7 separate regions of the Homo sapiens genome follow, and all the other regions are linked to region 5. The links are contacts of gene promoters, found by promoter capture Hi-C in blood cells and fetal thymus (Javierre and others, 2016). All regions are on one chromosome and are shown on one strand. Each heading gives the region's core, a stretch centred on a gene start or on the middle of the fragment in contact. The rest is flanking DNA. Distances are from core to core; before and after follow the strand shown. Region 1 overlaps TENT4B (terminal nucleotidyltransferase 4B). Region 2 overlaps ADCY7 (adenylate cyclase 7). Region 3 has its middle 10 kb from the start of ADCY7. Region 4 overlaps TENT4B (terminal nucleotidyltransferase 4B). Region 5 holds the start of SNX20 (sorting nexin 20). Region 6 overlaps ADCY7 (adenylate cyclase 7). Region 7 overlaps TENT4B (terminal nucleotidyltransferase 4B).

Region 1 (3,894 bases), core at 169-2,668, 500 kb after region 5:
GGCATGGTGGCTCACACCTATAATCTCAGCACTCTGGAAGGCCGAGGCAGGTGAGTTGCTTGAGCTCAGGAGTTCAAGACCAGCCTGGACAACATGGTGAAACTCTGTCTCTATAAAAAAAAAAAAAAAAAAAAATACAATAGCTGGATATGATGTTGTGTGCCTATAGTCCCAGGTACTCCAAGAGGCTGAGCCAGAGGTTGCAGTGAGCCAAGATCACACCACTGCACCCCAGCCTAGGCAACCCTATCTCAGGGGAAAAAAAAAAAAAAGTTCAAATCCATGATTGCAGGTGGCTTGAATCAGACTGATAAAGGGCATTTCAAGGCACACTGTCTCCACATTTAAATCCACAAACACACCTCCTTTGTGACTCTCCAACAATATAAATATTCTGTCTTGCTTAAAAACAAATCCAGTTAAAAACAAAGAAAAACCCAACACTTTTGTACAAGACCAATTTTTTAAAACTTACACATAATTTCACAATTTAATATTTTTACTTTTAATCCAAAAAGCAATTGTGTTACAAGGCCTGAGCCAAACTTCACTTCATTACAATAATGTCTGTGGCCCACATAACTATTTTGTAGTTGTTTAATTCACTTGTTATGGTTCTAATCAATACAGAAAAATCAGTGAGGAAGAAAACTATTCTATTTTAAGGAAGCAAAACTATTCTATTTTAATAGTTTGGAAGTTTGAGGACTTCCAACAGTTCATCTCACTCTTGGACTACTAATCTCCTCTACAGCAATGGGGTCCCTTAGACCCCACTGCCCCTTCTTGAGGGATTTTGACAATTGGCCAGGTTTGGGAACCTATAGTTTAATAGCGCCTTTGGGCAGCAGTTTTCAACCTTTACTGCATACGATTTTTTTTTTTTTTTTTGAGATGGAGTCTCGCTCTGTCACCCAGGCTGGAGTGCAGGGGCACGATCTTGCCTCACTGCAACCTCCACCTCCTAAGTTAAAGCGATTCTCATGCCTCAACTTCCAGAGTAGCTGGGACCACAGGCACATGCCATCATACCCGGCTAATTTTTTTGTATTTTTAGTAGAAACAGGGTTTCGCCATGTTGGCCAGGGTGGCCTTGAACTCCTGGCCTCAAGTGATCTGCCCACCTCGGCCTCCCAAAGTGTGAGATTACAGGCATGAACCACCGCAACTGGCCTATTATTTCAAAAAATATGTGAAGGCTGGGCACAGTGGCTCATGCCTGTAATCCCAGCACTCTGGGAGGCTGAGGCAGGCAGATCACAAGGTTAGGAGTTCGAGACCAACCTGACCAACCATGGTGAAATCCCGTCTCTAATAAAAATACAAAAATTAGCCAGGCATGGTGGCACACACCTGTAATCTCAGCTACTCAGGAAGCTAAGGCAGAAGAATCACTTGAAACTGGGAGGCAGAGGTTGCAGTAAGCTGAGATCGCACCATTGCACTCCAGCCTGGGCAAAAGAGCGAGACGCCATCTCAAAAAAAAAAGAAAAAGAAAAAAAGAAAGTGAAAACTATCACTCCCCTACAAATGTATTTTATCAGAGTACCTGAGAAGTGGGTTCTAGTCACTAATTTTTTTTTTAACTTCCTCAGATTGAGAACCGCACTTAGAAGGAGCTGCTTTAGGAGTTATCACTATCAAGCCCACTGAGCCCATCATCATTATCTGCATGGTCCACAGGAAACCCAACGGTATGGCAGAAGACAAGGTGAAGCACCAAGCCCTGGTTTTATTTGATTTAACAGACTTGGGCTGACAGGACCAGATTCTAGAGGCACACTAGGACACATTACAGACTAGGGCTAAGAAACCCTGGATTCAGGTAAAGATAAAGTCACTATACTAACAGCAGAACTTGGTAATGTCACTTAACTTCTCTGAGGCTCAAGTTATTAATTTTTTAAAAAAGGATTGGAGTAAATCACCTCTGAAGATCCTTTGATCTCAAACACCTTGATGATTTCTAACCATGTTGTAACAAATCGGTCAAATGAATAAGCAGAGTGGTCCTTACAGTAATGCATGAATATCTTCTGCAAATATCAGATTAACCTCATATATACAATTTTGGGCTTATTTACATAAAAATCCTACTCCTCACCACACCATAAGAAATCTTAACTGAACATTAGTGTGTTCTATCAAGTCAATTACAAATGAAAATTAAACTGGTCACATAAGCCCCAAAGTAAATATAAACATTTGGGATAAAGTAAAAAAAAAAAATTTTCTTTTGAGACGGAGTTGCGCTTTGTTGCCCAGGCTGGAGTGCAATGGCAAGATCTCGGCTCACTGCAACCTCCACCACCCGGGTTCAAGCGATTCTCCTGCCTCAGCCTCCCAAGTAGCTGGGATTACAGGCATGCGCCACCACACCTGGCTAATTTTGTATTTTTAGTAGAGACGGGGTTTCTCCATGTTGGTCAGGCTGGTCTCAAACTCCTGACCTCAGGTGATCCACCCGCCTCGGTCTCCCAAAGTGCTGGGATTACAGGTGTGAGCCACCGCACCCGGCTGGAATAAAGTAAATTTTTAAAGTAACTCTTTAACCTTTTCACTGTCAACACCATCCTGATGTTTTTTATAATTTTTTTCCATCTGTAAAAATTGTTGTAAAACATATGTAACATAAAATGTACCATTTTAATCATTTTTAGGTGTACAGTTCAGTGGTATTAAGTACATTCACACTGTTGTGCAATCCTCACCACCATCCACCTCCATAACTTTTTAATCTTTTCCAAATGAAACTCTGTACCCATTAAACATGAATTCCTCATTCCCTCCTCCCCACAGGCCCTGGCAAGCATTATTCTAATTACTGAATTACTGTTTCTATGACTCTTATATTCCAGATACCTCATATAAGTGCAATCATGCAATATTTGTCCTTTTGTGTCTGGCTTTTCTCATTTAGCATAATGATCTGAACGTTCATCCATGTTACAGCAGTGTCAGCATTTTCTTATTTTTAAAGGCTGAATAATAGTAGCCCATTGTATTCATACACCACATATTATCTATTCATCCATTGATGGACACTTGGGTTGCATCATTCTGATTTTTTTTTTAACCATCAGTAGTTATTTTGAAGTCACATACAAAAAAGATGAATGAACTTTATGTCATCAACTTTTTTTTTCTTTTCAAGAGAGAACAAAATTTCACTCTGTTGCCCAGGCTGGAGTACAGTGGTGCGATCATGGCTCATGTAGCCTCAACCTCCAGGGCTCAAGCAATCCTCCCACTTCAGCCATATACAGGTATATGCCACCATACCCAACTAATATTTTAAAAATTTGTTGTGCAAGTGAAGTCTCTATATGTTGCCCAGGCTGGTCTCAAACTCCTGACCTCAAGTGATCCTCCCACTTACGCCTCCCAAAGTGCTGGAGTACAGGCATAAGCCACTGCACCTGGCCAGCTTTTCTTTAAAAAAAAAAAAAAAAAAAAAGTAGACCACCTTGAGCCACAAAGAGCACCTTAACAAATTGAAAAGAATAGAAAGCATACAAGGTATGCTCTCAGACCACATGTAATTAAACTAGAAATCAACAGCAGAAAGATAGCCAGAAAAATCCCAAAATACATACTTGGAGATTAAACAATACACTTCTAAATAACAGATGGGTCAAAGAAGTCTCAAGAGATATTTCTAACTAAATGAAAATGAAAATATGACATCAAAATTTGTAAGATATAGAGAAAGCAGTGCTTACAGGAAATTGTACAGTGTTAACTGTAAACATTAGAAAAAAGATCTAAAAATCAATAATCTCAGTTTTCACTTAAAAACTTAGTTTTCTAGAAAAACTAAAAAAAATTAAATCCAAAGTGAGCAGAAGAAAACCAATTAGAGCAGAAATCAATTAAATTGAAAACAAAATTAAT
Region 2 (3,903 bases), core at 423-2,922, 400 kb after region 5:
ATGGGCGTCTCCCCCTGCTGCCCAGGGTGGTTTTGAACTCGTGGGCTCAAGCAATCCTCCTGCCTCAGCCTCCCAAAGTGCTGGGATAACAGGCATGAGCCACCATGCCCAGCCACTATTTTAAATTAAATTTAAATTAATTTAAAATAAAATTAGAAATTCAGTCCCTCAGTCACACTAGCCACATTTCAAATACTCAACAGCCAGCCAGGCATGGTGGCTCATGCCTGTAATCCCAGCACTTTGAGAGGTCGAGGCAGGCAGATCACCTGAGGTCAGGAGTTCGAGACCAGCCTGGCCCACGTGGTAAAACCCCCCTCCACTAAAAATACAAAAATTAGCCGGACATGGTGACGTGTGCCTGTAATCCCAGCTACTCGGGAAGCTGAGGCAGGAGAATGGCTTGAACCTGGGAGGCAAATTTTGCAGTAAGCTGAGATCGTGCCATTGCATCCAGCCTGGGCAACAGAGTGAGACTCCATCTCAAAAAAAAAAAAAAATCAAATACCCAATGGCTACATGCAGCTGCTGTACTGGACAGCACAGATAAACAGAGAATGTCTATCATCACAGAAGCTTCTACAGGCCAGCTCTGCTCTGCATGTTTCACTGTTTTGCTTTCACACAAAGGTCTCTGATCCATTTCGATTCACTCTGGGTATGGTGTGAGGTAGGGATCAAGGTTCACTTCTTTTTTCCATATGGATATTGAATTATCCCAGCAGTGTTCAGTGAACCGGCCATCCTCTCTCTGAATTTCAGTGGAGCCACCTCTGTCATAAGTCAGGTGATCACACACAGATGGTGTCTGTTTCCAGGCTCTGCTCTGTCCCCATGGTCCTGGTGCAATCACCACATTCACTTCATTTTCCAGTGAGTCTCATGCCTCCAGGCACAGAGGGTTCCAAGCTGTGATCCTAGGAGCCCTGAGATTTGGGGACATGCATCAGGCCCCCAATGGGAAGGGAAGGTGGGGGGGCATAGGCTCAGGCCCCCATGCCTGCTTCAGCCAGGGTAGCCCCCTGCATCTGTGTTACAGTAAGCTCCACATAAAACTGCATTTTCTTTCTCTCTTTTTTTTTTTTTTTTTGAGATGGGGTCTCACTCTGTCACCCAGGCTGGAGTGAAGTGGTGTGATCATAGCCCGCTGCAGCCTCAACCTCCCAGGGCTCAGGCAATCCTCCCACCTCAGACTCCTGCGTAGCTGGGACCTCAGCTATGCAGGAGGCTAAGGTGGGAGAATTACCTGAGCCTGGGGAGACTTAGGCTGCAGTAGGCCATGTATTTTTTGTAGAGATGGGGTTTTGCCATGTTGCCCAGGCTAGTCTTGAACTCCTAAGCTCAAGCAATCTACCCTCCTCAGCCTCCGAAGTGTTAAGCTTTCAGGCACTGTACCCAGCAAAAATCTTGTTTATTTTTTTAAATAGCCCACTGATACAAATTTCAGATGTCTGCAAGCCGTGCTTCACAGAAAAGGGAGCTGAGTCTCAGAGAGGGACACAGTGGCCCCTTTGTGACAACACTGTGAGCTGACCCCACACTTGCCATGCTCAGCCCATATGGGTTCCTTCTTTCCCCAGCACCATTCATTCCTTAGCATATTCATTGATTCCAAAAAGGCTTGTGAATCACACCTACGCCTGCCAGCCCTTATATCTCCTGTGTGCTAGTCTGGGCTCTCTCTCCCCAGGGATCCCCATCAGTCTCCAAAGGTAGGAAAATTACCAAAATTGTGCAATCCCTCACACAGCAATGGGGACTTGGGGACAGCTGCCATATTCCCAGCAGGAACCTTGCATGAAGGGGGCAACCCTGGACCAAGAGTCCACGCCCCCAGTGTCCTCCAGGCCTGCCTCAGATTGGAACCAGGACAGGGCCAGAGGCAGAGGGCAGGGAGGCTGTGAGACACGGGACAGCTCAGAGCAGTCACAGGGCACAAATGGCCAGCCGCCAGCAGAAGCTTCAAAGGACAGCTGGTCCAGCGGAGGGAAGATGGCCAGGTGAGCCCCCAGCCCCCAAAGGCAAAAAGCAGGATATCCAGGGTCCCCAAGTCCCCAACCAGCACCTGCTAGTATGAGATCCCTGGGGCCACCTCAATTCCAGGAGCCACCTCAGGCTCTATTTCCTCTGGAAGTTCCTATTCCATCACCACACACCAGGAACAAAATGGTAAAACCACATATTTGGGGAAGGAGGAAGGGGTCATTTGCTGGGGGCCCCATCCCCTTCAGTGCCTGGGCAGGTGTCTACAGGCCTTGGCACCTGTTCAACGAGGGGCAACCCTTCAGGGATGTGGCCAAGAGCTGTCAAAGTGCCCAAAGTGCTCAGACAGGCTACAAATCTGATTTCTACGTGAAATGATGATTTTTAAATGTTGGCAGCTGATTTCAAATTTTTCAATATTTGCAGCCCACTAGTTTACAACCTCTAAATCTAAACTAATCAGTCTGTATTCCACAAGAGGCATTTACTGTGTGCTAACCATATACATCCAACCCTGTGCTGTGGGGGTTGCCAAACAAGATAAGGTCCCTGCCTGAGATACATTCAATTCAGCACCCCCCACCCCAAAATAGCCCTTTGCAGTAATAACAGCAGCAGTTCCTGTCACCCCCGGCACCTGCACACACATTCACTCTCATCTTCACAACCGGCAAAGGCCAAGGTGGCACCACCGTCTCACAGATGCAGAACTGAGCCCAGAGAGGCAGAGTGGTTGCCTAAGATCACACTGCTGGAGCTGGTGGACAGATAGGCTGGGATGCAAACCCAGGTCTGCCAGCTCCCAAACCAGGGCTCCTCAGCCCAGGCTTGCCCACTGACATCCCGGGGGACTGAGCCAGATGCCACAGCACACAAACAGCAAACCCACCTGACCCCTGGCCTGCTGCCAAACACCAGTGCACCAGGACAGCCAGGCTGAGAAGCTCCAAACACCAGAGGGCTGAGGCCACTCCCCACAACTGCTCCATCTCCCAGGCAAAGCCCCCAGACCAGAGCTGAGGCGGCCAGACACGTGCATGAAAGTGCAAGTGTGAGAGTGTGTGGACACACCCGCTCCAGGCACACAAAGCCAGGCTGGGCCACCACGAGGAAAGGGAGGAACCAGCTGAGAGAGTCCCAAGGGCCCGTGGGAACACAGGCCTGGTAAACACGCCTCTCAAGGAACTCATTAGGCCACTTTCTGGGCAACGGCAGGCAGGCGCAGGTGGACAGTGGACAACATGGGCACAAGGACTTCAGCCCATCCAGGGACCTTGGCCAGCTCCTGGAACAAGCCGGGCACCGTGAGGCCTGGGGGGAATGAACTCACTGATCACATCTCCAGAGGGGGCCCAGGAACCCACCACCAGTGGCATGTCCCCAGGCCAGCTCCTCCCTAGGAGCCACCCCGCCAAAGCCAGACCCAGAGGCACCCCCTGCCCGGGAAGTTTTCAAGGCCTCCTGTCCAATCACCAGTTCTTCCACCAGCCCTCGACTCAGTTGGCAACAGGGAGGGCCTCCCCACAAGGCCCTGGATAAAGGAATCCTTCTGCCATGTCTGAGACACATCCAATCCAGGGCTCCCGGATTGAATGACCCTGCTGTTAGCTTGCACACCTCCATGACGGGGGGGCTCACCACCTCTCAGGGCAGTCTCCTCCATCACTGGGCACTTTTTCTGGCCCTGAGTCCTCCCTTAGCTCAAGGCAAGCCCTGCCTCCCTGTCACTCCCTCACCCACACCGCATGGGTCCTGTCTGAACTCCAAAGCCACCAAGAGCAGAGGTATCACGTCCCCTCTTCCTGAGGAGACTGCAGTCCCAGGGGGTCCCTTACTTACTCTCACCTCACGACCACCCCAGTGGTAGAGCAGGGTGAGCAGCCCCATTTTAAAGAAGAGGGGACTCCCCTGTGGGGAAGG
Region 3 (3,739 bases), core at 342-2,841, 420 kb after region 5:
CACCTTGGGAGGCCGAGGCAAGCGTATCACTTGAGTCCAGAAGTTCGAGACCAGCCTGGGCAACGTGGTGAAATCCTGTCTCTACAAAAAATACAAAAAAATTAGCCTGGTGTGGTGGTGCATGCCTGTGGTCCCAGCTATTAGGGAGGCTGAGGTGGGAGGATCACCTGAGCCTGGGAGGTAGAGGTTGCAGTGGACCGAAATCGCATCACTGCACTCTAGCCTGGGCAACAGACACCCTGTCTCAAAAAAAGAAAAAAAAAGATAAATCTAATATATAAAATATAAATATATATATATATGACATTTACAAAACAATTGGAAGTTTGAACACCGAATGGATAGTTACGATCTTAAAGAATTACTGCTAATGTTTAGCAATATGTGTGGTAAAATGTTTGTTTTTTTAATTTTATTGTAAATTGATCAGTTATAATTGTATATATTTATGGGATACAAGGTGACGTTACATATATACAATGGAGAATGATGAAATGAAGCTAATTAACATATCACCTCAAGTATTTAGCACTGTTTGTGGTGAAAACATTTGAAATTACCCTCTTAGTAATTTTGAAATGTACATTAACTATAGTCACCATGCTGTGCAATAGGTCTCAAAAAACTTATTCCTCCACTGAAACTTTGTATCCTTTGACTGACCTCTCTCTATCTCTCCCCATCCCACCCCTGCCCCCCTTACCTACACACAGCCTCTGGTAACCACCCTTCCACTTGCTGCTTCTGAGTTCAATTGGATTTTTTTGTTGGTGGTGGTCTTTTGCATTTGTTTTGTTTTGTACAGGTGGGGTGCTATGTTGCCCATGCGTTTTGAACTCCTAGCCTCAAGCAATTCTCCCACCTTAGCCTCCCAAAGAGCTGAGATGACAGGCATGAGCCACCGCACACAGCCTAGATTTCTTGGATTCCACACATAAGTGAGATCGTGCAGTATTTGTCCTTCTGTGCCTAGCTTATTTTACTTAGTGTAATGTCCATTAGGTTCACCCATGTTGTTCCTTCTTTCTTAAGGCTAAATAGTATCTCATTGTGTATATATGTCACATTTTCTTCATCCATTAATGGACACTTGTTTCTAGATCTTGGCTATTATGAATAATGCTGCAATGATTATGGGAGTGCAGATATCTCTTTGACATGCTGCTTTCAAATCCTTTGGATATGTACCCACAAGCGGAAGGAAGGGAGGTTCCTACTATTTTCCATAATGGCTGTGCTAATTTGCATTCCCACCAACAGTGCTCAAGGGTTTCCTTTTCTCCACATTATCTCCAACACCTGTCTCTTTTTTTTTGGAGACAGGGTCTTGCCCAAGCTGGAGTGCAGTGATGTGATCATAGCTCACTGCAGCCTCTGAATTCTGGGCTCAAGTGATCCTCCCACCTCAGCCTCCTGACTAGGTAGAACTACAGGTGCACGCTGCCACACCTGCCTTGTTTTTTTATTTTTTGTAGAGATGGGTTCTCCCTATGTTGCCCAGGCTGGTCTCAAACTCCCAGGCTCAAGCAATCCTCCTGCCTTAGCCTCCCAAAGTGCTGGAATTACAGGCGTGAGCCACCACGCCTGGCTTCTCTTGTCTTTTTAATAATAGCCATTCTAACAGGTGTGAGATGATACCTCACTGTGGTTTTAATATGCATTTCCCTAATGATTAGTAATGTTGAACATTTTTTTGTATACCTGTTGGTCATTTGCATGGGTTCTTTTGAAAAATGCCTATTCAGGTTCTTTGCCCATTTTTTAATTGGGTTTGTTGTTGTTGTTGCTGTTATTGAGTTCCTTATCTATTTTGGATATTAACTTCTTTTCAGATGTTTGGCTTGCAAATATTTTCTCCCAGTCTATCGGTTGTCTCTTCTGTTACCTGTTTTCTTTGCCATGCAGAGGCTTTTAAGTTTGACATCATCCTATTTGTCTATTTTTGCTTTTGTTGCATGAGATTTTGGAGTCAAAAATAATAATAATAATTGCCCAGACCAGTATCACATAGCTTTTTCCCTATATTTTCTTCTAGTAGTTCTATAGTTTCAGGTCTTATGTTTAAGTCTTCAGTCCATTTTGAGTTGGTTTTTATATGTAAGGATCTAATTTCATCCTCCTGCCTGTGAAAACCCAGTCTTCTCAACACCATTTATTGAAGAGGCTATCCTTTTCCCATAGTGGGTCCTTGGCATCTTTGTCAAAAAAATCAATGGACTGGGCAGGCACAGTGGCCCATGCCTGTGATCCCAGCATTTTGGGAGGCCGAGGCAGGCAGAGCCCTTGAGCTCAGGAGTTCGAGACCAGCCTGGGCAGCATGTTGAAACCCCATCTCTACAAAAAATACAAAAATTAGCCAAAGGTGGCATGCACCTGTTGTCCCAGTGACTCAGGAGGCTGAAGTAGGGGCATGGCTTGAGCATGGGAGGCAGAGTTTGCAGTGAGCCAAGATCCCACCACTGCACTCCAGGCTAGGTGACAGAGTGAGACACTATCTGAACAACAAACAAACAAACAAATCATTGGGCTGTAAATATATTCATGGGTTCATTTCTGAGCTCTCTATCCTGTTCCATTGGTTGATACGTCTTTTTTTTTTTTTTTTTTTCCAGAAACAGAGTCTTATGGGCCAGGCATGGTAGCTCATGCCTGTAATCCCAGCACTTTAGATGGCCCTATCTCTATAAAAAAGAAATTATAAATATATATATATATTTTAATTGGCTCACTCTGTCACCTAGGCTGGTGTACAGTGGCACAATCATAGCTCACTGCAACCTCAAGCTCCTAGGCTCACGCAATCCTCCCACCTCAGCCTCCCAAGTAGCTGGGACGACAGGCTCCTGCCACCACACTCGGCAAATTTTTAATTTTTTTTTTTTTTTTTTGTAGAGACAAGGTCTTGCTATGTTGCCCAGGCTAGCTTCAAACTTCTGGCCTCAAGCAATCCTCCCACCTCAGCCTCCCAAAATGCTAGAATTACAGGCATGAGCCACCATGCCTAGCCCAATGTGTCTATTTTTATGCCAGTACAATGCTATTTTAATTACTGTAGCTTGTAATATATTTTGAAATTAGGTAGTGTGATGCCTTCAGCTTTGATCTTCTTGCTCAAGATCACTTTAGCTATTTGGGGTCTTTTGTGGTTTCACCTGAATTTTAGAATTGTTTTTTCTTTTGTTTTGGCAGGGGGTGGGGGTGGGGGGGCAGGGAGACACAGCTTTTGGTATAAACCAAAGGTGTGTTCCCTGTTTTTTCTTTTTCTGTGAGAAGTCACTGGAATGTTGACAAAGGCTGCATTGAATAGCTTTGGGTAGTATGGACATTTGCACGATATTAATTCTTCCAATCCATGAACATGGATAAAATCCCATCTATTTGTATCTTGTTCCATTTCTTGGTTCATTGTTTTATAGATTTCAGCATACAGCTCTTTCACCTTCTCCGTTGAATTTATTCCTAAGTATTTTTTCGCGTGGCTATTGTGAATGGGATTATCTTCTTGATTTCTTTTTCAGATAGTTAGCTAACATACAGAAACATGACTGATTTTTGTGTGTTGACTTTACAGCTTCACTGTGTTAGTTTATTAGTTCTAACAGTTATTTGGTGATTGTGTGTTTTTTAAGCATCTTATCTTTTAGTAACATAGACTACCATTCTCACAGATGAAGTGACAGGGTGCCTGGAGGGGGCTGTGTGTGGGAGGAGAGGCAGCTCCCAGAGGCCATGGGCTGGA
Region 4 (3,864 bases), core at 760-3,259, 480 kb after region 5:
TTGGAATACTGAGGAAATAAACTTCAAGTACAGATTTTAAAATAATTCTAACAGGCTCTATCCTCAGGACTGAGTAATTTTACTGGCACAGTGCCTTGCATATTCAGGCACTTAAAATACCCTGACGAGCTGGAAGTCCGTTTGTAGAGTGTGCACTGTAAGTCTGGCTCTCATTTGAGTGGCAGAGTGGACCACCTGAGGAATTTTGTAGGCTTGCTTTCACATGGTAATATAATTTTATGCCTCTGAAAGCATCCAAGTACACAGAGAAAACTTCAGTTTCTCCCATGTTTGGATCAAAATTTAATATGATTTATGAGTAGGTATTGCTGGATGACACATGCCCATTGTTACAGTTTCTCATATGAAATTATAAAATACATCATACTGAACTAAGAATGATGAAAAAAAGTATAGAATACAACTCTTCCGTGATCTGAACCTGTATGTACCCAAAATACAGTGCCCTCTCTAGGATATCAATGTTTTTATGTTAAAAGGAAAAGTGGCTCGGGCACAGTGGCTCACGCCTGTAACCCTAGCATTTTGTGAGGCTGAGGCGGGTGGATCGCTTGAGTCCAGGAGTTCGAGACCAGCCTGGATGACATAGTGAAACCCCATCTCTACAAAAATACAAAAAAATTAGCCAGGCGTGATGGTGCACGCCTGTAATCCCAGCTACTCAAGAGGCTAAGGTGGGAGAATCGCTTGAGCCCGGAAGACAAAACTTGCAGTGGGCTGAGATTGTGCCTCTGTTCTCCAGCCTGGGCAACAGAGCAAGACTCCGTCTCAAAAAAATAAAAAAATTTTTAAAAAAGGAAAAGTGAACAAGATCCCTGTTCACAAAAGAAAAGTCATATAAAAGCAGTATGATAAAATGAGCACCACTATACAACGGGAAAGGATGCCAAAAAAAAAAAAAGAGAGAGCAAGAGAAACAAAATTAATTTGCTGGGGTAAAATTTACATTAAAATCTCAAAATTAATAACAGAACATTTAATATGACAAGGAGGTGTCCAAAAAACAGATTCCATATTTAAAAAATAAAACTCACAGGTAATTTAGGTTAAAAAAAAAAAACAAACTTCTGTTCTGAGGAAAGATCTGCTACAGAAAAGGAATCCAGCCTATCAAAATTATGTGAATTTTATAATGCTTGTCATGGGGTGGGAGGTTCAAGATCTTTGGCTGGAAAAGGAAGAACCATTTCGCATCCTTCAGCTGGACCACCCTGGGCACACTGTGAGTTGCTTAGTAGCTTCTGCATTCTCAAAACCAAAGGCAAGGTGGAAAGCTCCCTTGTGCCTTCTAGGCCAAGGGAGGCAGATGACCCACGGCCAGCCCCTCTGCTCAGCACCGTCCCCTGCGGCTCATCCATGTTTCTGTTCAGGGATGACACTGCTTCCCAAGAGATACCTGCCCAGACACAGCATGTCTGAGCCCACCTCCACATCAAGGTCCAGCTTTCCCAGTTCCATAACTGAAGTCAGACCTGTTTTATTACCAAATTCATCCCTTACATGAAGGAACTGACAAAGTTCTATTCGATAACTGTCAATAACAGGACATCCCTCCACCAAAACAAACTGTCAATAACAGGACATGCCCCCACCAAAAAAAAAAAAAAAAAAAAAATACATACATATATATTTATCTCTTAAGGTTCATGATATCCAATTTTGAAACAATATATTGAAAAGGCATTCATATGCATGTGGGGAAGTATAAATTACTACAATCTCTCCTGAGGTCATTCTACTAACAAACGATAATGTTTACACAAATAATTTTTAAAATTTCCCTTCTTTCCATCCTCCAGAAATATTTTCATGAGGGAACAAGGATATCTGTATAAGGATGCTCACCACAGGATTAATTAGGATACTAAAAAATTTAGAAATGATATCAATGTCCATCAACAGGATCCAATTAAATAACAACAGAAGCACCCATAAAGCACTTTCCCTTTATAGCCAATAACCTCTTAAAAAAATAAAGCTATATAAGCTGATAAAGATGTCAAATATGTTAAATTGGAAAGAAAAAGCATAAAAAATGTGTTCAGCAGAATCTCTTTTGTGTGCGTTAGACATGTGCAGGGGCAGAAGCAGTGGCTCACACCTGTAATCCCAGCACTTTGGGAGGCTGAGGCGGGTAGATCACTTGATGTCAGGAGTTTCAGACCAGCCTGGCCAACATGGCGAAACCCCATCTCTACTAAAAATACAAAAATTAGCTGGGTGTGGTGGCAGGCGCCTGTAATTCCAGCTACTCGGGAGGCTGAGGCATGAGAATCACTTGAACCCAGGAGGCAGAGATCACAGCAAGCTGAGATCATGCCACTGCACTCCAGCCTGGATAACAGAGCAAGACTCTGTCTCAAAAAAAAAAAAAAAAAAAAAAAAAAAAAAAAAAAAAAAAAAAAAAAAAAGACATGTAAACACATACACACAGAGGCAGACACACAAAATGTTCCTATTTGCATTGCAAGTTTTCTGGAAGGAGAACTGTTAACAGATATTACCTTAGGGACAGGGACTTTTGCCCAGTGGAGGGCACAGGCAGGAGAGTTAGGAAGACTTTAACTTATTTTTGTATCTTTCTGTACTATTATAATTTTTTTTAAAAAATCAGCATGTATTTGTCCACTTTTGAAACAGAGATTATTGTCTGCTTGATGAGATTATAGTCCAGGAGATTTGTTGTCACCTTTATATTTTCCCATGTGAAAAATATGGTTGTGAGTATGCATGTTCCACCCACTAACCAGCCCTCTGCCCGCCCCACACAGAACAGGGTCTATATACGATACTGTTAACAGTGATCACATCCGAAGAGGGACTGGGGGGGTCATTTTAAGAAAAATGCATACATGTTAATTACCACTGTATATTTTTAAAACAAGAACTTCATCATAAAAAAATTCATTAAAGAAAACACAAAGCAGAAACACTTAAATTACTCTAATAATCTAGCCTTGCAGACACACTTCGAAAGAGGGTGATATGGGCCGGCTGTGGAAGGAGCTCAGTGGTCAGCCTGTGGGCAATACTGACAGCTGGGGACACAGAAGACCTCCAAACCCAGGAATGCAGTGACAGCACACACCAGTACATTTTGCAAAGTTTCTGCATGCCCAGTGCAGTGTGTGTGGTGAGTTTCTGCTAGTGTCTGGCCCATCCTTTCTGGGATTATTTATATACTCAAACGCGTTGCAAGGCAAATTTCTGGAAGAATACACAAAAACTGCTAGCAGGACTTTCCTCTGGGGTGGAATAGAGGTCTGAATTTGCATGATTTTGTACTGTTTGATTTTCTTCAAGCCTGCCTAGACACCAAGAGAAGCGAGTGACTCAAGGCCCTGGGGTGATGGCAGGGCAATCTGGGTGACATCTTCAGGAGACTGCAGATGGATCTTTACCAAGAAACTCATGCACACATCCAGCCTCCTCCTATACTTGCAGCTACCAGCTAGACATCCCTACAAAGATGTCACCTCGAACTAAACAAGTCCAAAACACAACTGCTTGTCATTCTCTTAAACCTATTCCTACTCCTGTGTTTTCTTCCCTGAGTTACTGTTTCCTTGAGTGGAAACTTCAGTCTTCCTTGGTTCACCTTTCTTCATCTACGGAGCCAAGAGGTTTCCAAATCCTTGTTCCCAAAACCAAAAAACAAAACACTTCCAAATCAGACCCTGCCCCTCCACCTTCCCTGACCGTGCTCTGAGTTCAAGTCTTTTTCTCTCTCAGTAGAACACTATGGCAGCCTCCAAACTGGTCTCCCTACTATGAGCCTCTCCCTTTTCCAGGCCATTGCTGCATGATTACTGAAGTCCCCTTCCTTAGCCTATCTGTGTCACT
Region 5 (3,725 bases), core at 730-3,229:
AAGAACACCTACAAACCATTAAAAATAATCAAGTCAATAATGAGCAATGACCTTGAACAGACACTTCATTGGAGAAGGTATAAGGATGGCAAATAAGCCCATGAAAAGATGCTCAACATCATTAGTCCTTAGGGAAATGCAACTTAAAACCTTGATGAGAGACCACTGCACATTAATGCAGTGGTACACTGAAAAACACTGACCAAACCAGACACAGTGGCTCACATTGGTAATCTCAGTACTTTGGGAGCCCAAGGCAGGAGGATTGCTTGGGGCCAGGAGTTCAAGACCAGCCTGGGCAACATAGTGGCCATGATGGTCTATCCCTCCAGAAACAAAAAAAATTTATTAGCCAAGCATGGTGACGTAACTGTAGTCTTAGCCACTCAGGAGGCTGAGGTGGGAGGATCATTTGAGCCCAGGAGTTCTAGGTTGCAGTCAGCTATGATGGTACCATTGCACTCCAGCCTGGGTGATAGAGCAAGACCCCATCTTTAAAATAATTATAATAATGACCATATCAAGTGCAGGTAAGAAGGTGGAGCACCTGGAATTCTCATATACTGCTGGTGGGAATACAAAATGGCACAGCCACTGTGGAAAATATTTGGCGTAATCTAGCACAGTTGAAGCTATCTATACTCTGAGACCCAGCAATTTCACCTCAGATAAGTACATGGACTTGGATAAATGTGTAAGAATATCATCAGTGGCATTGATCATGATGGCCACCCTAGGAACAACCCAAGTGTGCATCAAAAGACAAAACAAAAAATGACAAATGGTGATGTATTTAAATAATGAAGCAACAGAAAACCAAACACAGCATGTTCTCACTCATAAGTGGGAGTTGAACAGTGAGAACACATGGACACAGGGAGGGGAACATCACACGCTGGGGCCTGTCAGGGGTGGGGGCCAGGGGGAAGGAGAGCATTAAGACAAATACCTAATGCATGCAGGGCTTAAAACCTAGATGATGGGTTGATAGGTACAGCAAACCACCACGGCACATATATACCTATGTAACAAACCTGCAGGTTCTACACTGGTATCCCAGAACTTAAAGTAAAATAAATAATAATAATAATGTAGCAACACAACAATGGAAATGAAAAAAAGTATCTACACAGAAATGCATCAGTGAATCTTATACCCATAAATGTTGCATGAAAGAAGCAAGGCACTGGAGAATACACACAGTATGCATGGTTCAATTTATATAAGATTCACAGATGAGTAAAATGAAACTGAATTGTTTGGGGATCTCATAGGTGGTAAATTTCTAAGGAAAAGCCAAGAAGTAACCCCCATCTGAATCAGGACTGTGACTGCCTCTAATAGGGAGGAAGGGAATCATGGCTCAAAAAAAAACACATGGCAAACTTCTGGGCGAGCCAGCAAAGTTCTATTTTTTTTTTTTTTGTCTGATTTCTGTTTCTTGCCTTCAAGGCCACAAAGATGGGTGGGCATGAATCACACCACACTGCCCTGGGGTTTCGCTTCCCTGGGACTTTCTGTTGGTGGTGATGGATACAGCTTTGCTCAGAGAAAAGGCACCAGATGGAACTGTAATTCTACCCCACTGCTCTTCTATGTCAGTCACTGGCTCTGTGTCCCACCAGCTCTGTGATCCAAGCCTCGGTTTTCCCATCTGTTCAAGGGGCATGACGGCCCCCATCATGCCTAGCTCATAGAGTAGAATAATGAATGTTAAAGGGCTCTGGGAGCTAATGCCTGAATTCCAGAGATCAACGGGGACTCGAAGGACAGCCAGACCTCTGCAAGGCGGCAGGGAAAGTGAGGCTGAGCTAAATCCCACAGGGCTGGCCCCACACCGCCTTGCCCTTCCCTGCGCTACCCGGAAGAAGAGGTGGGTACAGCTGGCAGGCTGGCAGTTGAGTTCAATATACCATGTTTCACCAGCCAATGGGCTGGGGCGATCAGAAGCAGGTCACACAGCCTGTTTCCTGTTTTCAAACGGGGAACTTAGAAAGTGGCAGCCCCTCGGCTTGTCGCCGGAGCTGAGAACCAAGAGCTCGAAGGGGCCATATGACACTCCTCCCGGACCCCTGGACACACACAGCCCTGGAGACTGGAGGTCAGTATTTGATCCCAAGCTCAGCTGTCCTCTGCCTGCTGTGGCCTGAGTCCCCTTCTCCTGGGGCCCTGCCTGGCACCTGCTGGGGGCAGGGTGGGAGGGGGAAGAGTTAGTGACAGCCACTGTGTCTGGAGCTCTCCTTAGCACACTGAGGCAGAGGAAGGGACAGCTCCTGGACCTTCCATCACCTCCATTCCTTTTGAAATGCTAGGCGCTTGTACAACCCATCTTGGGCCTGGAGAATAAGTCACCACACCTGTGTTTCTCAAAAGAACAGTGTCAGGGAACCCCTGCCTCAGCACAGCCTTAGAGGACTCATGGAAAATGCAGAATCCAGGCCTGTTCAATGGCACCTTCCTATGTTAGCAGCCAGGAAACCTGCTCTTGGACAAGCCCCTGGGATCCCACCCCCACCCCACCAGGGGATTCTTACACACACTGGGTTGGGAGCCCCTGGCTTTGGCAAGGCTTCTCAGGTGAGCGTCCAGTTGTTGGAGGGTACCCACCCTTTCCCCAAGAGAGGCAGCCACACATCCAACATCCTGGGATCTCTGTCTCCCAGCGTGGGCCATGTGCTTTATTTCACCCCCTAGAGGCTCATCCCCCATGAAAAGTCCTCCGCAGGCCCTCAGAAAGATAGTGTGGCCTCTGTGTGCCCAGCAGAAGAAGGACTGGACTTGGCAGTCAGCTCTTGGAGAGGGGGTGGTTAGGACACCTGGGGACAGGAGGAGGAGAATGACTGTCTGTGCACACACGGCTGGAAGGCAGAGGAGGCTGGGAAGCTGCTCTGTCCCCTGGGCCAACTACAGGCCCCCAGGCCAACAGCAACAACACTTTTAGTATTTTGTTATAAAGTCAAGAAATCTTTGCTACAGAGGGTGAGGAGAGGGAAGGAAAGGGCCATGGAACCGTCTATGTGGCTATCCCCAGAGAGCTTTTAGAGTGACAGGATTGCTTTCCCATTTCACAGATGAGGAAACTGAGGCCTGGAGAGGGATGGGAAGCTACCCAAGGCCCCATGGATACACCAGTGCACAACTCTTTCCTTCCCCCTCCTCTTTAAATGGGTGACTCCCAATGAAACCTGTAAGAGACAACCATAAGGGAGCTGACTGTGGCTGCTGAATTTGATTTTATTCTAAGGCCTGGTTTTATAATCAGCTTTCTCAGTCTTTACTGGAGTGTCAAGCCGAGGCATCATTTCTAGGGTCTTACAGGGTCTCTGGGCCAATAGTGCCCTGCTTCTGACCTGGAGCCAGCTGCCTGGTCATGAAAGCAGATCTGCAAAGGCTGGGGCCCCTGAGGCCAAGGCCACTCGCCATCACCCATTTTACAGAAGTGCTGAGCATAGGAGTGCCCTGGGCCCCCAAGAATCCCAGCCACCAAGAATCACGTAAACCATCCACTGTCTCACTTAGGCACCAGTCAGAATGTAGGGAACCCACCCCTAGTCATCCATCATCTTATCAACAGGACGGGGCTTGTAGCCACATTTATCAGGTAGGGAAACTGAAGCCTAGAGATATTAAAGCACTTGCTTAAGGACACACGGTTGGTCAGGATGGAAGGCGATGTCTCCTGACTCCCTGACAGGCACAAGAGACAAGCGAGAGGTGCCCGTGAC
Region 6 (3,968 bases), core at 131-2,630, 360 kb after region 5:
TGGGATGCCTCTATCTAAAGGAACCATGCTTTAGTATCTGGAACTTTGTTTTTCTTTTTAGCTGAACAAGTGACCAATAATCTTAAAGAACTTGCACAGCAAGTAACTCCAGGTGATATCGTAAGCACGTATGGAGTTCGAAAAGCAATGGGGATTTCCATTCCTTCCCCCGTCATGGAAAACAACTTTGTGGATTTGACAGAAGGTACGTGCCCTGTTTTCTCTGGGAAAGCAGAAAGCTATGGTGACTATAGTCATCCCTCAGTGTCTGCCCGAGATTGGTATCAGGACCTCGGATTTGGTATTTACCCCACAAAGATAGCAAAATCTGTAGATGCTCAAGTCCCTAACATAAAAGGTATTTGCCTATACCCTACACACAACCTCCAGTATACTTCAAATCATCTCTACTTATATACTTCATAGAATGTAGTTAATAGACTGTATTTTTTATATTTTTTTCATTGTTTGTTGTATTTTTTTAATTGGGTTTTTTCCCCAAATATTTTTAATTGGCAGTTGGTTGAATCTGCAGATGTGGAACCCATGGATAAGAAGGGTCAACTGTAAAAGGAACATTTATCTGTTTTTAATGTATAAACTACTCTTAGTTTTCTTTTTATCTTGTCTAAAGAATTAATAAAGATTTCCTGTGTGCAGAAGAGCCACAATGATCACCTGATAATGCGCGTAGTCTTCAGCCTTGGATGTGGTGAAGAAGGGCTCTCAGCAGTTATGCTTCTGGATGGCAGCTTGACTTTCATGTCCCCTTTTTAATTAAAAGGTAAAAACAATGTTGAATTAAGTGATGTCTTTTTCTTTCAGACACTGAAGAACCTAAAAAGACGGATGTTGCTGAGTGTGGACCTGGTGGAAGTTGAGGCTGCCTGGTATTTGATTATATATTATGTACATACTTTTTCATTCTTAACTTAGAAATGCTTTTCAGAAGATATTAAATATTTGTAAATTGTGTTTTTAATTAAACTTTGGAACAGCGAATTTGGATGTTCCAGAGGTTGGACTTGTATTAGGTAATAAAGCTGGACCTGGGACTCGTGAGGAAGGAATGTGCTTGGGGCTGTTGCCATACCTGTGCAGCATTCTTTCAAAATAGTGCCTTCCAATGCTTCTTCCTTATGTCCCACAGACAGGATCATCACTAAGAAGCGTTCTTAAAACGGCCCCATCCAGTGAGATTTTCCGTTATACGAACATACTTGAAATAATTTTAGAATTTACTACTGTGGTTCTGCCCCTGCATACCCAGTGGGAATGATGCCCTTGTATGGGTAATTAGGCACCTCCCACCCACCCCTGACAAAAGCACACTGGGAGTTTTATAGCACTGTCACATGGCTAGTGTTCTTTTTTGGTTTTTTCCGTTTTTTAAAGAAAGAGGAGTTACTTAGTACTATAGCAAAGTAATAAGCCAAATAAGATAAACTAAGTCATCCTTGAATAGATCAGGGAATTACCAGATTACCAAAAGGTGACATTTCTACTTTACTTACTGTTTATCTGAAATACAAAGGTCAAGTACCCAAGGAGTTGAACTCTAAGTAGGAGACCACAAGATTCATGGCCCCCTTTTATCAGCAAGCTGAGATAAATGGTGATTTTGCTGAATCGGTATAGAACCTGTTATACACAAGGGAAAAAAATCAGGATGGAGATAGATAGATAGATAGCCTTGTTCAGTGAACAAATTAAGTTTGAAGGCCCTTATACAATCCTTCTATAAATCACCCAGGCAGGAAGCCATTTGATTTCTATTATTTTCCTGACTTTGAAAATTAATTAGTATTTAGGAAGAACAAATAGGGTAAAGGAAAATTAATTCCCTCAAAAGACTTAAAATCTTATGCTAAAAGAGTCAAATTTTCAAGTTGTTTGAGTCTACTTTTAATCTCTAGTGAGTTCATGAGGACCACGAAAATAAAATACCTTCAGATATTTGAGTTTTTCAAATTGCTAATTTAATGTATAAAAAGCAGCTAAACACTGGTACTTTATAAAAATGAAACAGCATTTTGAAACAAATGTTACAGATCTATAAATATTCATTATATAGAATAAACCCTAGTTACTTGCATGCACCACCTCAAATCATATTTCTTTACACTGACCTATTATATACACAAAGTATACAGTGGTTAATGATCTTCTCTTCTGTTTGTTTGTTTGTTTGTTTGTTAGGAAATTTCCTCAATAAGCCAGAAAACCTTAGGTATTATTTTCACAAAAGTTAACTCAGGAGAAATTGTAAGGAAGTCCTTGACCCATGGAGAAGGTCACTGTTTGTTTGTTTGTTAGATACGTGTGTCTGTCATAAAACAAAATGACACCAGTAATTACTTGGTAATTTAAAAACAAGTTCATAAAAAGAAAATACCTGCAGGTAATTTTTATGGTCAGTTATATTCTATAACCTGAACACTGAAAACTAAAAACTTTTACTTACAAACTATTATTATCTGAGCACAGCACAGTGCTTTGCTTTAATTGGAAATAAAAATGCATGAGTGAGTGGTAGTCAGTTATTTGTTAAACTCCCAACTGGGGTTTCTGTTGTTACTGAAGAAAAAAACAAATATTCCAAGAGTACAAATATGCTGACCTCAGAGAGGCCCAGTGCACTAATGTGTTTCTATGTTATATTAGCAACAGAAACCTTCCTGACTTGCCAGGAGAGCCCCCGCCGGGCAGCCCTGGTCACTGCTAGATCTTGAGAGCACAGATTTCAGTATAGTATTCATGTGAAACCAGCCCTTCATGTAAAAAGTTTTGGTGTGTAAAAAAGGCAACTTAAGCGAGGCTAATTGCCCTTACCAGCATTGTTGCCATGAAATTCCTTTATACAGCAAGTTCTTCTATTCATACTGATTCCACTTATGTGCAGCACATGAGAGCTGCCACTAGTCTACCCAGCACCTTTGTGCAAATTAGAATACACCTGCCCTTCCTCGGGCTGATAAAGCCACACGACACAGCACAGGCAGACAGGTTCAATTTTCGTTCCCTCCACCGCCACCCCCGCACTTAGCTGTACTCTTAATTTGCAGCCCGGGGCAACTCATCCCAGGACCCCAACAAGTCTGGTCAGTCACCCAATCTGCAACCCTGTATAATCATCTTGTAAAGGCTCCTGTATGCAAGACTTTGTGTAGAACTTTACGGGGTTCATGGGGACACCTAGCTAAGAATCCCTGCTATGTAGGGAAACTGAGTGCATTAGAAATCCTGGCGATGCTCTGGTGATGAGGCCACCGGTTAAGTCTTCCGGTTATGAAGTCCATTCAGAAAAAGTCACGGGCAGTTTGGTCATTTCTCACCCTGTTGTTACAGTTAGGTTGACTTTCAATTCCTTGGGAAGTTGAAGCACAGTAAGACACATCCCCAAAACCTGGCTTTTTGCATTTGCCTTGACTCACGCAGTTTCAGAGCAAGAACGGCTCAGCATTTGTGAGGGGGCGGGCTTCCCAGATCCAGGAGCCTCTGCATGCACCCATGCGGAGTAGATCCTTCTAGTTTTGAAGCTCTCCAGAGTTAGCTGTGAAGACTAAAGGAAAGAAGAGATGCACTCACAGGTTGTCCAAGTTGTCTCTAAACAGACTCCATTCCTTTCTGGTAAGAAAAGTAAGATACAGTTGAAGGACGGCAGGGGAGAACGCAAAGATGTGTGAGTAATCAAGGAAGAGGTGAAAGGCCGCACCTTACTTTCAAAGCACCTCTCTCCAGAATGCTTGCCTCACAAGCTGCCTCATTCAAAGGCAAGGCTCTGCTGCTCCCCGCCTTCTTGCTGTGACCACATTCCTCAGGACTCTATCCCCACAGCCAGCTGACCCCATAAGCTGATGCTAGACAGTAGTCCTCCTTACATGTCAGTGGTTAAAAAGGCAGAGCATACACTGGAGGGAAGAGATTTATGTCTAGTGTCTGAAAAGTCATTCAAAAGGATAAAAACC
Region 7 (3,907 bases), core at 392-2,891, 460 kb after region 5:
CGGTGAAACCCTGGCTCTACTAAAAATACAAAAAATTAGCCGGGTGTGGTGGCGGGCACCTGTAGTCCCAGCTACTTGGGAGGCTGAGGCAGAATGGCATGAACCCGGGAGGCGGAGCTTGCAGTGAGCCAAGATCGCGCCACTGCACTCCAGCCTGGGCGACAGAGCGAGACTCCGTCTCAAAAAACAAAACAAAACAACAACAACAAAAAATTCAACCAGAAAGCTGAAAAAAAATTGAGTGAAAGAAGCCTTACACAAGACTATATTCTATGTGGTTCCATTTGTATGAAATTCTGAAACAGGCAAAACTAACTATGGTGTTAAAAAGTCATAACAGCTGGGCTCACGCCTGTAATCCCAGCACTTTGGGAGGCTGAGGCGGGTGGATCTCTTGAGGTCAGGAATTCGAGACCAGCCTGGCCAACATGGTGAAACCCCATCTCTACTAAAAATACAAAAAATTAGCTGGGTGTGGTGGCACATGCCTGTAATCCTAGATACTCAGGAGGCTGAGGCAGGAGAATCGCTTGAACCCAGGAGGCGAAGGTTGAGGTGAGTGAAGATCATGCCATTACATTCCAGCCTGGGTGACAGAGCAAGACTCCGTCTCAAAAAAAAGAAAAGAAAAGAAAAGAAAAACGTTAAAGGCCAGGTGTGGTGGCTCATGCCTGTAATCCCAGCAATTTAGGAGGTTGAGGCGGGTGGATCACAAGATCAGGAGTTCAGGACCAGCCTGACCAACATGGTGAAACCCCGTCTCTACTAAAAATACAAAAAATTAGCTGGGTATGGTGGTACGCACCTGTAATCCCAGCTACTCAGGAGGTTGAGGCAGGAGAATCGTTTGAACATGGGAGGCGGAGGTTGCAGTGAGCCGAGATCATACCACTGCACTCCAGCCTGGGTGACAGAGGGAGATCCCGTCTCAAAAAAAAAAAAAAGGAAAAAACAATAAACAAATACTGGAGTCTGGCTACAAGGATGCACAAGCTACAGTACTCTAGGGGAACTGATGTCTGTAATCTACTTTGAAATGGATCAAAGAATAAGATGAATTAATGGATAGAGTGATGGATAGACAGGTATGACATAAGCAAGTAAAAGGTTAATAGCAGAATCTACTGGTGAGTACATGAATGCTCACTAAAATTTGTTCACTTTTACTATATGCTTGAACTTTTTCATAACAAAATGTTGAGAAAATGTACAAGCATGAAAGTTATTAAAATATCCCAGTAACATGTAAGCAAAGGAAGTAGCCTTAGCCTTCGAGACAGTGTTAACCCCAGCAAGAGAACGTGCATGCATCTGAGTTCAGAAGAGCCGAGGCTTTCATACTTACTACATCACTAGAGCTGGACTGTGTGGCAGAAGAGGACGACACTGGACCTGATGAAGAGTTTGAAGAGTGTTTACTAAGAGATTCCGAGGTTTTACTTCTACATTTTCCAAGGGCTTCATTTTCTTCAGATAGATTATTATTACATTTATCTAACTGCTGAGTATCTACTATCAAGGTAACACCATTTCCTGAAAGAGTGGCAAAAGATTGGAAAACGTTTCTTCCCATTAAACGCACACAACACAGAAAAGCCTCTAATACTCAGTCAATCGACCAAGGAAAATATCTTACCATTGCATGAAGGCTCAGGTCTATTCTTCAAGCCCCACTGCTTTGATATCCAATCTCTATATGTGGCAACTTCATCTGTTACTCTAATTATTCTACCTAGTATGCTGCATGTGTTTAAAAAGAAAGGGAGAGGGAGGGAATAACATTAATTTGAAGATAAGAAGCCACAACTAATTTTGACACAATGGGCTGGTTATAGATGAACTTTTACCTTTCTGTTTCATTGTTGGGATAGTACTTTGCTATTGGTGATACAGCATGACTCAAAACAACGTAGGCATAATCAAAGGCCTGCTTCACTTGCATGGCCCCATATGAACTCCTTCCAACATCGTTACCTTTAAAAGAAATATACGTAACATAGTAAGCCTGACTGTGCTTAATATGCACTAAATGTTGATGACTCTCTTCCAGGAGAGCAAGGGCCATAGTTATCCCACCAGAGTTGTGCCTGGAAGCTGAGCTGTGAGCTGTCCCCAAAGCTCCCCAGTCTCTGAATATGTGAATCATGCAGTTGGTACTTCATTATGGTGTATCAGTTGCCGGAATGTATTCTGGCCCATCAAGAATTATCCCATTCCATACATAAACAGTTATGCAAACAAAAGAAATAGTGCCCTGTTCACTCCTAAGAGTGAAACCCCAAGTTACATCAGAAATACTTCTATATTTTTTGGGTTTATATTAGCTATATATCTATTTCTCACTCTAAATTATGAGCCCCTAAAAAGCAAGGATCGTCTTGCTGAAAAGTCTTCGTGTCCTTTGGCCCAATACTTTTGAACAGAGCAGGCTCCCAATCAATGTAATGTTTCCTCAATGAATAAACACATAGAACTATTAATGTTTATAAGGCAGCTCAATAAGCCAGAAAATGGTTCCTAGGCAACTACTCTATCTCTTCACCCCCTTTCCTTACTCATTTTCAAAGTTTACACATTAAAGCAAATGACTAAAAGCACTTCCACTGAAGTCCAATAACGCAGAATCTATTTTACAATTATATCAAGAAAAAATATTGCTCACAAAAATCAGGACACAAGCAAGCAAACAGAACTTCAGAAAAGCATGGAAGGAATTTACTTTCTGCTTACTTTCAAGCCCACATGAAGCTGGAAAAAGCACAAAGAGACATGCAAAATCAAACAGGAAAGGAGAAATTCAAAAAGAAAATACATTGTCTCCTTGCACCCTTCTGCTCATGAATTCAAAGATATATTACTATGCTTGCTGCCTCTCAGGACTTCAGAATCATCTCATTAAAGCCTCATTAATTGCTGACAATTGGTTGTAATCAAGGCAATAAGGACCCAAGAAGGAGAAACAGCCACCAAACATGAACCCATCCAAATAAGTGAATGCCTTTTCTACTATGCTTTTAGGGTTAAACAGATTCTACTCCCTACTTATCTGGAAGTCTCCAAGGTGTTTTTCTATTGTCTGTGTCTGTTTATTTTAGTATGTTTGCTCATGAAATATTTCGATGAAAAAAGAATAACAATTAGAAGTTGTTCCTTCATTTTTCATCTAAAGAGAATTTAAAGTATAATAAGGTGACTGACAGTGCCCTCTCTTTGAATGCCCACAAATTTACCTAATTTCAATACCTGGTTGTAAAGGATCTTCGATATAAAGCATTGATGGCCTGTAGCCATCTAGCATATTTTTCTGTACTTCATCTTTGGCCACATATGAACCACCATCCTTTATCCGGATGCCAGTCTTTAAATAATTGAAGTGTCGTCCATATAATTCAAAAAATTCTATTAAGAGAACACCATAGTTTGTATTGGGGATGCAAGCATCTTCCCTGGGATGTAACTAAAAGCAGAAAAGAAGAAATTATATTGGATTTTTGCTAAATTATCAAGGAGAGGGGGAATAAATTATATTCTAACTTCTACAAGCAATATTATTATAATTTTGGTTTAGCATAGCAGTCAGTTGATAATGGGCTAACAGCAGGTTATACTGTTGTTACACACAACACTAAAGTCCCATGGTGCGGGAATGGCGGGAGACTGTTTGTAAGGCTGAATTTTACGGCTGCACCAGGCTGCCAACCAGGGCTGGCTTGGCCCAACACATCAGCAAAGTCGTTCTGACTCACGAATAGACTCAGGCAGTTGGCAACCCTGTGCCACATAAACATACCCACTTACAATACTAAGACTCTAATTCGCTTACCCAAATAGCTGGTCTCAATTCCAACTAAACTTACAAGATTTAGCTGCTTAGAAGACATTCTTATTGTTGGCATTTATACTATTT

The links. The method cuts DNA at HindIII sites, captures the fragments that hold promoters and counts their contacts. A CHiCAGO score of 5 or more calls a contact.
Region 1: a contact is called between a fragment that was not itself captured here and the fragment with the promoter of SNX20 in region 5, in 5 of 17 cell types (total CD8 T cells, non-activated CD4 T cells, monocytes and 2 more). The highest score is 8.6, in total CD8 T cells.
Region 2: a contact is called between a fragment that was not itself captured here and the fragment with the promoter of SNX20 in region 5, in 9 of 17 cell types (activated CD4 T cells, non-activated CD4 T cells, monocytes and 6 more). The highest score is 12.3, in activated CD4 T cells.
Region 3: a contact is called between a fragment that was not itself captured here and the fragment with the promoter of SNX20 in region 5, in 4 of 17 cell types (total CD4 T cells, neutrophils, total CD8 T cells and 1 more). The highest score is 6.7, in total CD4 T cells.
Region 4: a fragment that was not itself captured here is called in contact with the fragment with the promoter of SNX20 in region 5 in 10 of 17 cell types (total CD4 T cells, non-activated CD4 T cells, total CD8 T cells and 7 more); the score reaches 11.7 in total CD4 T cells.
Region 6: a contact is called between a fragment that was not itself captured here and the fragment with the promoter of SNX20 in region 5, in 6 of 17 cell types (naive CD8 T cells, total CD4 T cells, naive CD4 T cells and 3 more). The highest score is 7.8, in naive CD8 T cells.
Region 7: a contact is called between a fragment that was not itself captured here and the fragment with the promoter of SNX20 in region 5, in 6 of 17 cell types (total CD4 T cells, naive CD8 T cells, neutrophils and 3 more). The highest score is 9.5, in total CD4 T cells.

Annotation. Positions count from the first base shown.
Region 1 is chr16:50,177,706-50,181,599 of GRCh38, reverse strand. The region is part of intron 1 of TENT4B (terminal nucleotidyltransferase 4B); the gene reads right to left. Among named protein-coding and RNA genes, the nearest start is that of TENT4B, 26 kb to the right of the region's middle. The HindIII fragment of the contact is 5,075 bases long and covers 1-3,894 here.
Region 2 is chr16:50,283,617-50,287,519 of GRCh38, reverse strand. The region is part of intron 1 of ADCY7 (adenylate cyclase 7); the gene reads right to left. Among named protein-coding and RNA genes, the nearest start is that of MIR6771, 7.0 kb to the left of the region's middle. RefSeq lists an enhancer at 3,085-3,586. The HindIII fragment of the contact is 581 bases long and covers 1,382-1,962 here.
Region 3 is chr16:50,254,272-50,258,010 of GRCh38, reverse strand. It overlaps a transcript of ADCY7 not described here. Among named protein-coding and RNA genes, the nearest start is that of ADCY7, 10 kb to the left of the region's middle. RefSeq lists an enhancer at 3,328-3,739. The HindIII fragment of the contact is 8,884 bases long and covers 1-3,739 here.
Region 4 is chr16:50,204,127-50,207,990 of GRCh38, reverse strand. All of the region lies in intron 1 of TENT4B (terminal nucleotidyltransferase 4B), which reads right to left. Among named protein-coding and RNA genes, the nearest start is that of TENT4B, 53 kb to the right of the region's middle. The HindIII fragment of the contact is 6,724 bases long and covers 1-3,864 here.
Region 5 is chr16:50,679,566-50,683,290 of GRCh38, reverse strand. It overlaps SNX20 (sorting nexin 20), which reads left to right and starts at 1,979. Exons shown (of 4, transcript NM_182854.4): 1 at 1,979-2,101. The HindIII fragment of the contact is 15,976 bases long and covers 1-3,725 here.
Region 6 is chr16:50,316,124-50,320,091 of GRCh38, reverse strand. It overlaps ADCY7 (adenylate cyclase 7), which reads right to left. Exons shown (of 26, transcript NM_001114.5): 26 at 1,957-3,968. It overlaps BRD7 (bromodomain containing 7), which reads left to right. Exons shown (of 17, transcript NM_013263.5): 16 at 62-205; 17 at 826-3,968. The coding sequence ends at 881. Among named protein-coding and RNA genes, the nearest start is that of MIR6771, 25 kb to the right of the region's middle. RefSeq lists an enhancer at 1-998. The HindIII fragment of the contact is 7,497 bases long and covers 1-3,968 here.
Region 7 is chr16:50,222,724-50,226,630 of GRCh38, reverse strand. It overlaps TENT4B (terminal nucleotidyltransferase 4B), which reads right to left. Exons shown (of 12, transcript NM_001365324.3): 7 at 3,244-3,457; 8 at 1,848-1,974; 9 at 1,637-1,740; 10 at 1,346-1,533. Among named protein-coding and RNA genes, the nearest start is that of ADCY7, 42 kb to the left of the region's middle. The HindIII fragment of the contact is 8,159 bases long and covers 1-3,907 here.